Regions from separate parts of the Homo sapiens genome. Here region 2 is linked to region 1. Evidence: promoter capture Hi-C in 16 types of primary human blood cells and fetal thymus (Javierre and others, 2016). All regions are on one chromosome and are shown on one strand. Each heading gives the region's core, a stretch centred on a gene start or on the middle of the fragment in contact. The rest is flanking DNA. Distances are from core to core; before and after follow the strand shown. Region 1 holds the start of ALDH9A1 (aldehyde dehydrogenase 9 family member A1). Region 2 holds the start of MPZL1 (myelin protein zero like 1).

The links. Contacts are between HindIII fragments. The CHiCAGO score rates a contact against its expected background, and 5 or more counts as called.
Region 2: the fragment with the promoter of MPZL1 here is called in contact with the fragment with the promoter of ALDH9A1 in region 1 in 3 of 17 cell types (fetal thymus, activated CD4 T cells and total CD8 T cells); the score reaches 10.6 in fetal thymus.

The regions. Positions count from the first base shown.
Region 1 is chr1:165,696,482-165,701,613 of GRCh38, reverse strand. It overlaps ALDH9A1 (aldehyde dehydrogenase 9 family member A1), which reads left to right and starts at 3,052. Exons shown (of 11, transcript NM_000696.4): 1 at 3,052-3,236. The coding sequence starts at 3,056. It also overlaps the pseudogene CA14P1. RefSeq lists enhancers at 2,617-2,796, 2,661-3,243, 3,087-3,316 and a silencer at 2,867-3,056. The HindIII fragment of the contact is 1,150 bases long and covers 2,071-3,220 here.
Region 2 is chr1:167,718,677-167,724,162 of GRCh38, reverse strand. It overlaps MPZL1 (myelin protein zero like 1), which reads right to left and starts at 2,181. Exons shown (of 6, transcript NM_003953.6): 1 at 1,921-2,181. The coding sequence starts at 2,011. RefSeq lists silencers at 1,542-1,681, 1,712-1,781, 2,172-2,541 and enhancers at 1,353-1,853, 4,080-4,579. The HindIII fragment of the contact is 2,037 bases long and covers 1,145-3,181 here.

The DNA of each region.
Region 1 (5,132 bases), core at 1,803-4,302:
GAGGCAGGCAGTTTCTCCTTGGATCTTCTACCCCTTTAGCAATGATTCCACTCCTTTTCTATCTCTTTTTACCCCCAAATCTGCCCTCCAACACACACCCATCTAAGAGGTGTTTCTCTTTTGGCATTCCTTCTGCTCCTTGTGGCATCTTTGTCCCTTTGAATTTCACCCTGAACTTGTAAACTGGCCAGCATCCTCTGTGACTTCTGGGCTGCTTACTGGGTAGTGCTGACAAATATCCTAAGAAGTTTACATGTCCTTTAAATCTCCCTAGAACCAGATTTCTGGGTTTCTGATAAATATCCACCAACATAAGAGTGAATTTTGATAGCAACCTTCATGGGGTCAACATCTCGACCTGGTGTAGTAAGAAGAAATTTACTTTGGACTTGCACAGAGCTGGACTCCAGCCTTAGCTCCTTTATGGGGAAGCTCTACGACCTTTCTATTAGTTTCCTCATCTGTACAATGGGGATGATAAAACCTATCTTGCATGATTGTCACTGAGATATTTGACAAAGTGCCACATACTACCTCCTAGCTCAATCTCTGTTAGTTTCCTTTTCTTTTGTAGGGTTATTATGAGCTTCATGTGAGAAAGTAAATGTGAAAGGGCTCTGTAACCTATAAAGCTCTTTCTACATGTTGGATTTTGCTAATGAAAAATAATACATTAATAATCTAATAATAAGGGTGGAAGGAGGGAGAGGATCAGGAAAAATAACTCATGGGTACTAGGCTTAATACCTGGGTAATGAAATAATCTATACAACACACCCCCATGACACAAGTTTACCTATGTAACAAATCTTTACATGTACCCCTGAACCTAAAAGTTAAAAATAATAATTTAATAATAAAAGCACAGATAGGTAAGAGGAACAGCTAGATATTTAAAAGGTAGATATTTTGGAGGAGATCTGTTTTCTTTGGGGAAGGGTCTTACTCTGTTGCCCAGGCTGGAGCAGTGGTGCCATGATCGCTCACTCCAGTCTTGAACTCCTGGCCTCAAGCAATCCTCCACCTCAGTCTCTTGAGTAGTCAGGACTACACGCTTGTGCCACCATGCTCGGCTAATTTTTAAAAATATTTTGTAGAGACAGAGTCTCACTATGTTGCCCAGGCTGGTCTTGAACTCCTGGCCTCAAGCGATCCTCCTGCCACGGTCTCCCAAAGTGTTGAGATTACAGGTGTGAGTCCTGTGCCTGGCCAGAGGTTTGTCAGTCTTATCATCTATGAATTAATTCAATAGACATCACGACCACATTTCCAAAACAAACATCAGGAATTATGATGTGACAAGTCAAAATGCATTGGTTGGGGACAGAATCTTTTAAATAGAAATTGTCCCATAAAATTTGAGACGTATAGTTTCTGTACCTAAATGACCATTCAGTGATCTTGGAAATCTATAGTGCTGCTCGTCACCAACTCCTGATATGTTTCAATTCTGTTTGCAATGGACAATAATAAAATAATATGTGAGTGTGGCCTCAGGTATTCTGAGTTTGGGCACTGCTGTTTCCATCTGAGGACCAAGACCTACACATCTCAGTAGCACTGAAAAAGTGAACAAACTGGTATAGAGTGCCAGAAAACTTGATCAGAATACATTATATATACTCTAAACCTGAAAACCACACTCCCTAATATTGCGCTGGTGAGCTGGCAGGTAAAGGAAAAAACATTGAGAAAGACAGCAGCCCCCAGAAGAGAAACAATCCTAAAAGAAATGTCCAAATTGCCAATTACTTTCTGTTTGTCAAAGTCTCTACTGGAGGTGCATGGAAGTTTGGTGAGAAGAATGAACCTTTGTGCAAGATCCCTCAGCTGACAGACCTGTGAGTGCCTCTGGGTGGCTGCTTTGTCTTACAGAAGGCATTTTGTTTCCTGACACTTTTTCCTGTGGCCTTTGCTCTTCGTATTCTGTATGTTAGGCTTCTGTTTCTATCAATATTTGTCATTAATAGCATTTACATTGCTCCTTCAGAATTTATTTATTTTGAGACAGGGTCTCGCTCTGTTGCCCAGGCCTGAGTGCAGTGGCACGATTATAGCTCACTGCAAGCTTGGACCCCCGGGGCTCAGGGGATCCTCCCACCTTAGCCGCCCAAGTACCTGGGGCCACAGGCGTGTGCCACCACACCTGGATAATTTTTTTTTTTTCTGAGTTTCACTCTTGTCACCCAGACTGGAGTGCAATGGCATAGTCTCGGCTCACTGCAACCCGTCTCCCGGGTTCAAGCGATTTTCCCACCTCAGCCTCCCAAGTAGCTGGGATTACAGGCGCCCGCCACCACACCCAGCTAATTTTTGTATTTTTAGTAGAGACGGGGTTTTACCATTTTGGTCAGGCTGGTCTCGAACTCCTGACCTCAGGTGATCTGCCCGCCTTGGCCTCCCAAAGTGCTAGGATTACAGGCGTGAGCCACCGCGCCCGGCCCAATTTTTATTATTTTTATTTTATTTTTTTATAGACACGGGATCTCTCTCTGTTGCCCGCAAACTCCTGGGCTCAAGCGATCCTCCAGCCTTGGTGAGAGCCACAGCGCCCAGTCTCTCTTTAAGAATTTAAAAAGCAGTTTCAGATCACAATATCATCTATCTCGTTCACAGTCCCCTTGCTTTTTACTGTCACCCTTTAAAAAGCATTATACAATTACAGAAACGGTGGTTTAGCAGTGAAGTAACCACCAAAGACTCTTGGCACTCCAATCCTCTGCCTTCTTCAGGCGATAGGATTAAGAATGGGATCCTAGGATGCTTACATGCAATGATGAACCCGAAAACACTTGCAAAGTGCTACGCAAATATTGATCACGAAGAAGGAAGTCCTCTTCCCGCCTGGAGACTGTGTGGGGTATGGCGGGGTGGTGGGGAGAATGTGGTGTCTTGCTCCACCCTCCTGGCGAGGGGAGGGCCTGGCCTGGACCGCAGAGGAATCGAGTGACTGCCCCTAAAATCTCCTAGAACCGATCCCGCGGCCCCGCCCCTCCCGCGGCCCCGCCCCTCCCGCGGCCCGTCAGCCTCTGCCGCGGAGCTGCGTCCGCCACTCATGTTTCTCCGAGCAGGCCTGGCCGCGCTCTCCCCGCTTCTTCGCAGTCTTCGGCCCTCTCCTGTCGCCGCCATGAGCACTGGCACCTTCGTCGTGTCGCAGCCGCTCAATTACCGCGGCGGGGCCCGCGTGGAGCCGGCGGACGCCTCCGGTACCGAGAAAGCTTTCGAGCCAGCAACCGGTAACTGCAACGAGCCGGGGAGGCTGGGGCGCCCTGGGGCCGGATGCGCGGATTTCCCGGCCAGCCCCCGTTTCCTGTGTTCTGCAGCGTTGACTTGAGCACAAGACAGTGACAGTGGAGAGTCTAAGGTTGTGTGTGTAGGCAACTAGCGATTCTGGGGCAACGCGAGTGCCTCCGGGCAGGGATGGGTAGGGAGGAAAAGCAAAGCTGATGAGTTGCGTGGTAGGATCGTGAGTTGTTTTACCCGGGCCAGAACAGAGTTCGCAAAGTACTGGTGGGGGAAGTCGTGCCTCTGTTAACTTCCTTTTTTGTTTGTTTTGTTTGTTTGTTTGTTTTTTGTTTGTTTTGAGACAGGGTCTCACTCTGTCGCCCAGGCTGGAGTGCAGGGGCACCATCTCAGAGCTCACTGCGCCCTCTACCTTACGGGCTCAAGTGCTTCTCCCGCCTCAGCCTCCCTGGTAGCTGGGATTACAGGCTCCCACCACCATGTCCGGCTAATTTTTGTATTTTTAGTAGAGACGGGTTTTCAGCATGTTACTCAGGCTGGTCTCGAACTCCTGAGCTTAGGTGATCCTCCCGCCTCAGCCTCCCAAAGTGCTGGGATTACAGCCGTGAGCCACCAAGCCCAGCCAACTGTTCCCCCTTTTAAAACCAGGACTGATGTATTATTGTCTTCAAATGTGTGCATAGGAGAGGAATTCTAAAAGAACGGGGCGGGGTTGTGGGGAAGATAATCATTTGTGCTGGGAATGAAGGAACGCTCACAGATAGTTTCTAATGACTACGAATGAGGACTTTGTCTCCACATTCTAATATTAAAATATTTCTGCACATTAATCAGAATTGGGAAAGGAAAAAACCCCACCTTTATTCAGTACTTTCTTCCCCAGCTTTATTGAAGTATAATTAACAAATAAAAATTGTATATACTTAAGGTGTAAAACGTGTTGTAATGTATGTATACCTTGCAAAATGGTTACCACGGTCAATCTAATTATCCATTGCTTCTGCATAGTTAATGGCTTTTTTTGGATAGTGAAATATTTAAGATCTATTCTTTTAGCAAATTTCAAGTATATGATGCAGTATTGGTAACCATAGTCACCATGGTCTACGTGAGCTCTCCACAATTTATTCATCTTGCTGAAATAAAACTTTTTAATCCAGTGCTTAATGTGTGCTAAGCACTGTGCTAGGCACTGGATTTACTCTGGGAACTCTGAAGGTCACAGAGATAAGGAAGAAGGGGCTTTTTGTTTTGGTTTTGTGTTGTGTTTATTTTGCTGGGTTTTATGGAATATATGTGGGGAGAAAAATGTAAATATTTTGTGTAAAATGTAGCCAGAGCAATAAAACTGATTTGCAGGGGACTGGAGAATTTAGTATTTGACCATCCACACTAAACCACAGAGCAGTGACTTGGCAGAGCCAGAAGGCATTATCACATCTCTTCTTTATATAGGAGGAAACAGCTTCTCTACCCCGACTTAATCCTGATACAAAAGAAAGAAAAATTGCTCTTTGCTTTAATTGCCTACAGTGTGTGTGATCCTCAGCCACCGCCTTTACCAGCTGGCTATTCAAGTTTGTAACAGAAATTGCAGATTTGTGAAATCTCCCTGGAAAGAGTCCCAGGAGTTCTTGTGAAGAGGATTTGCTGAGTTGGCAAACTTAAAGAATTCTTGTTGGTAGAGGCAGTACAGTCCTTGGGCTATGGGCCTAGAAAAACTGATTGTTTCATAATTTGCACCAGAATAGGGAGAGGGAATAAAGGTGGAATAAGAAAAGGAAATCTGGGAATTTTTGAGAAAAAAAAAATGTTCCTTTAGGGTTGCCTTATCCTGATATTACTGCTTATTAACTATATTTATCAAGTATCAAGTAGTATGATATAAC
Region 2 (5,486 bases), core at 932-3,431, 2.0 Mb before region 1:
CTGAACTACAGTCTGAGATAATGACCCTCCTTCAAGCTCCCACAGTACATCTTTACCAATGTGCTTCTGACCCTACACAGTGGCACACACCTGTAGCCCCAGCTGCTTGCGAGGAAAAGGCAGAGGAATCACTGGAGCCCAGGAGTTTCAGTTCCAGAGCAGCCTGGGCAACACAGTGAGACCTAACCTCCCACCTTTTAAGTGTTAAGCACTTAAAAGGTGCTCAGTGAATGTTTGCTGAGTAACTGTCTTGATAAAACTTTAGAAGCTATCCTGTAAAAGATAAACTCTTATGTGCAGTATCCATGACCAGAAAAGAGGTGATTTGGCAAGAATTTTAGATTCAATAATTTTCTAAGTTGAACCAATAACATCAGCTGCTGATTTTTACATATCAACATTCATCTTCATTACTGAAGAGTTACGTCCAAGTTGTATGGGGCTATTACTCTAGTGATCTTTTCACTACTATGTAGTTTTGCACTCCTTCTACGTTTAATACCCTGATTTTAATTAAGATCACCCTAACTGCTTTGTCCTCCATAGCAATGTCTGACCTCTCATGCATAACAATTCTGTCTGAAGCATATTTCTGATAAACCTTAATTTTAGGCTATTTTCTACTTGTTTGATTAAACACAAATACCACCACCAACAAACACACTTTTAACCTTTTTTTCTAAGACAAAATACAGAATGGATTGTGTCTTACACAAAGTGTGTCATCATCTGTCAACCCCTGGAGGGTAGGGAGACTTTTACATTTATGCTTTACAGCCCCTGGAATCACTGTTTAAGTGGAACAGTTGGTGATCCAACAGAACTTCACCTAGTTTCCCTGATCCAAGGATTATATTAAGAACTTTTCCATGAAGAAAGAAATTACTGAGTAAACTCTGGTATTCAGATACTGTGATGCTAAATCATAACTGACATTTTGAAAACAAAGGGAATGAAAAAAATCTACGTGGTTTCTTAGCAGCTGGCCCTCTTTATAACTATTATTTAACTAAATTCGGAGACAGCAACAAGTACTTTGCTTTGAACAACAACACAGAAAAGTCCTGTGGCAGATACCACTTCAGATGTCCATAAAACAAGTCATCCAATTCCCATAAATTGAGCCCGAGGTTTACCTTAAGCTTGAGTCACAATATTTGGTAAGAAAAAGGAGCTTTTTTTTTCCTTTAGGAAAATTATGCTTTTTAATGCTCTATGTCTTGTCAAATTATGGTGGCTACGTCTGGAATTATGATGGATTTGACCAAATTCTTTTAAGCCAGGCCATCTCACTGGTATTCCAAGCTCTTTGCATTCTAACCTAGAAGTAACAATATTTTTTTATTGGCGTTTTGCAGACCACGGAAATGAGACTCTTTTATTACGGAGACTTAAAACTGAATGAGAGCATGGGAAAGGGAACTTACAACAAAACCCTGGCTTAACAGGAAACAAATCAACAAAGGCCCTACAAATGAAAAACCTGCAACTTTCCGCCACCTCCCAAAGGTGAAGAACGCCAGAACCCTAGTTCCTGAGTCAGAATCCGGGAGGGCCTAGACGATCCAGAGTCACCACGAGGAGAGGGCAGGGTGCGCCGCGAGGGCTCACCGCAGCCGCCCGCCGGGTCCGCTCCCCTGGACCGCCCCCCGGGAAGGAGCAAGGTAAAGCACTCTCCCCTCCTCCTCCGCACTCCAGGATCCAGGAAAGAGAAGAAAGAGGCTCTGCGCCTTCCCGGCCAGTCGCGGAGGCCCGCGTTCCCCATGGGCTGGGTCCCCTCGGCCCCAGAGAGCGCAGGCCGCGCCCCCTCCCCACCTCGGCTCTCAGTGCGCGCGCCTGGCCTGCGACCGCCGCGATGGGCGTGTGTCGGGCCCGGGGGCCCCACTCCCCGGCCCCAGCCCTGGTCCTGGCATCACTTACAGAGCCCAAGCGCCGCCGCCAGCACCGACCACAGCCAGCGCCGGCTGTCTGGGGCTGCAATCACCGCCCCGGCTCCGGCGGACGCTGCCATCGTCCAGCCACTGCAGTCGCCGCCGCCGCCGCCGCGTCCCTGAGCCCGGGTCCCCGCTGAGGTTGGCTCGGCTTGGGGAAGAGGCTTCTGATCTCTCCGCCACCCGCGCCGGGTGGCACCTCCACGCCGCGCTCCCCACTCCGGTCCCAGCCGCGGCTCTCCAGCTCTGCACCGAAGCCTCAGCCCCACTCCGGCCCTCGCTGTCCGCTCATTGGCCTGCCCGCACCCTTTTAAGGACGCGATTGGAGAGTCAGGCTGTCCATCATCCGTCCGCCGGGAAGGCCCCGCCTCCTCGGTCCCACCCAGGCGCCTCGGCCCCGCGCGGAGGCCGGGTCTGCAGCGGTCCCAGGCCGAGCCGAGCCTTCCGCCTGCCTGCGTGGCTGTCCGCCTGCGGGCCCCACCAGCCAGCGTCTCCTCTGCCTTTCTCAGGGTCCAGTCCCGTGGTCCTCTTCATTGTCTCTCCTCGCCACAGGTCTTTGCTGGGTACTAACCTCGCCTCCGTTTCAGCTCTTCTTGTTCTCTGCCGGCCTCACCTAACGAAAAAGAAGCAATTCATTTACCTTAAAAAGAAAGAAAAGACAGAAAGAAAAATAATGAGGCGTTCAATTGATGGGGGAGAGACTTCTGATTCAGTCGTCCAGGTGGAACACGTTCCCCGTGCCGTGTCCCCAAGGCCTGTCCTTTGCGTGGACTAGATAATGTATGTGTTGCAATTTGCGAAATCTACTAGTTTAAAAAGAAGTCTCCATCTTGCCCTAACCTCCTCTTAGGAACCTCCCTCCTGGCTTCAGAAGGATGGGAATCTGGAACTCTTTCCTACTACCTGAAAAACAAATGAAAATGCTTTTTGATTGTTTTGCTTTCGCATATCTGTGTTCCTGTCTGTGTCCGTGAAAAATAGAAAGCAGAAGTTCCCAACACTGATTCTGAAGTGCCCTGCAGAAGTTCCCGACACTGATTGCTGGCCCTGCTCAACTTGGTTGCCTTGGCCCAGAACAGTCTGCCACCTACGGGTTGTCCAATCAATAGGGGAAATATTTGGAAGGATCCTTATGAAAATGGCTTACAAAAGGGAAAAATGGGGGACAGGGGCACAAGAAAGATGAGTGTGAAGGAGGAAAAGGGAAGATTCAGGTGGGAGGCTGATACGATGAGGAAGGGAAGCAAGCTTTAGACAATTAGGACAAGAGCGGGGGAAGAGTATGGTGAGAACCCAAAATGTAACCTCTCACTTCAGGGTTTTTGTCTAAGGTCAGTCTTAACAATGCCATTCCTGATATCTGTGCTGTTTCAGCTAACATTGCAGTACAGCGAAATCATAAGAACATTAGTGAGAAAAAAACTTAAAAAAAAAAAATACCAGAACCACTTTGCCCTATTTCTGTCAGCAGATCCTTTTGAAGTTGTATCTCAAATGCCATAGGTTGGAAAAGATACCAATGCATTAATTGAACCATGGATGTAGAACACCTGGGCTTTACTCTCAAGAAGCACATCGTCTACTAGTGTACACAAACAAGTACTCAATTACATTTGTAAAAATGAGGGCCGGGTGCGGTGGCTCACACTTGTAATCCCAGCACTTCGGGAGGCCGAGGCGGGCAGATCACGAGGTCAGGAGTTTGAGACCAGCCTGGCCAGCGTAGTGAAACCCCATCTCTACTAAAAGATACAAAAAAATTAGCCGGGCATGGGTGGCGCGTGACTGTACCCAGCTACTCGGGTGGCTGAGGCAGGAGAATCGCTTGAACTGAGAGAAGAGAGACAGAACCTCTCATATAGTTTTATACTCAGAAAAGGAAAGAGAAGCGAAATTAAAGGCAGGTAACCCGGCGCCTAAGAACCAGACCCGAAACCAGGCCTGGGCCTGCCTGACCTAAGCCCGGTAGTTAAAGATCGACCCCTGACCTAACCGGTTATGTTATCTATGGATTCCAGACATTATATGGAAAGGCATTGTAAAAATCCCTGTCCTGTTCTGTTTCGTTCTGATTACCGGTGCATGCAGCCCCCATTCACAGTACCCTCTGCTTGCTCAATTGATCATGACCCTCTCACGCGGACCCCCTTAGAGTTGTGAGCCCTTAAAAGGGACAGGAATTGCTCACTCGGGGAGCTAGGCTCTTGAGACAGGAGGCTTGCCGATACTTCCGGCCGAATAAACCCCTTCCTTCTTTAACTCCGTGTCTGAGGAGTTTTGTCTGCGGCTCATCCTGCTACAGAACCTGGGAGGCAGAGGTTGCAGTGAGACGAGATCACGCGCCATTGCACTCCAGCCTGGGCGACAGGGCGAGACTCCGTCTCAAAAAAAGGAAGAGTGAATAAAGAAGAAACCCAAGGCCAGCAGGGACAGTGACTCTCAGCAGTGTTTAAAGCTTCTCTGCTGATTGTGATGTACCTCAGCCACATATACCTCGCTCTCCTAAAATCCACTGGCCCAAGAAGCATCTAGAAAGATTCACCAAGGATAAAACATTTAAGGTGAACTTTAAAAGATGAATAATTCACCAGAGAGAAAACAGGAAAAGCAAACTCAGAGAACGGAGAAAACAGGAAAAGCACATTCAGAGAAAAGAAATCACCTACCAAGTGTGAGAAACATTAGGTGAATCCTTTGTGGTTTGCAACTTGAGGGGAGTGAGGGAAAGAGGGGAAGAGAGAATGCCAGGAAAGGAGGCTGCGGTCATATTTTGAAGAGCCTTGAGTTGTGTTTTTTCTGGAGGCAGTGGAGAGTGGTGAAAGGGGTGTAAGAAGTTCGGATCTGTGTTTTAAAAAGGTAACCACTGCAGCAGGGCAAGAATGAAGAGAGCAGGAAATAAGGTATTGATAGTGGGGATGAGAAGACAGGATTTGAGAGACATTTCACGAAAAGAATTACAGGACTGGGTATAAATTGGATGAGAAGTATAATCAAGAGAAAAAGAGTCCCAATTTCTAGCCTGTCTGTCTTTGTCTTCAAGATCTGTTGCCAGAGGAAAATTGGAATGTGGGTGGTGTCCCAGGAACCCTGAGAATTTGACTCCTCGCAGATAACAAATCAGATAGATTCAAAGAGGAATCCCAGGCCACCTTGAGAAAGATTCGCCTGAAGCCAAATCAGTTTCACAAAGAATGTCTTAATCCAGAAGCATTGCTGCTAGAAATTTTTGAAAATTGGAAAATTAGAGTTCTAGTGTCTCCTTCCCCTTGGCACAGAGACACCAAATTGGGGGAACGAGGGTAAAAGGGTCCTTAGGGAGGTGTTAATTCTTACAGGAGAAGGCTGTGCTGTCAGACTTCTAAATTCACTGTAGCTGGGATAAAATTTTCCTCAAGATACACTGTTTTCCTGGGCCCTGCAACCATCTGTGTACTACATCTGCTTCCCAAGGACCTAATTCTAGGGAAGCATGTGCCTGGACAGATAGCGCAGGCATTCCTCCTACCAAATAGGGATATTTCCCACTGTCAATGAAGCAATCAATATTCTGAGTTT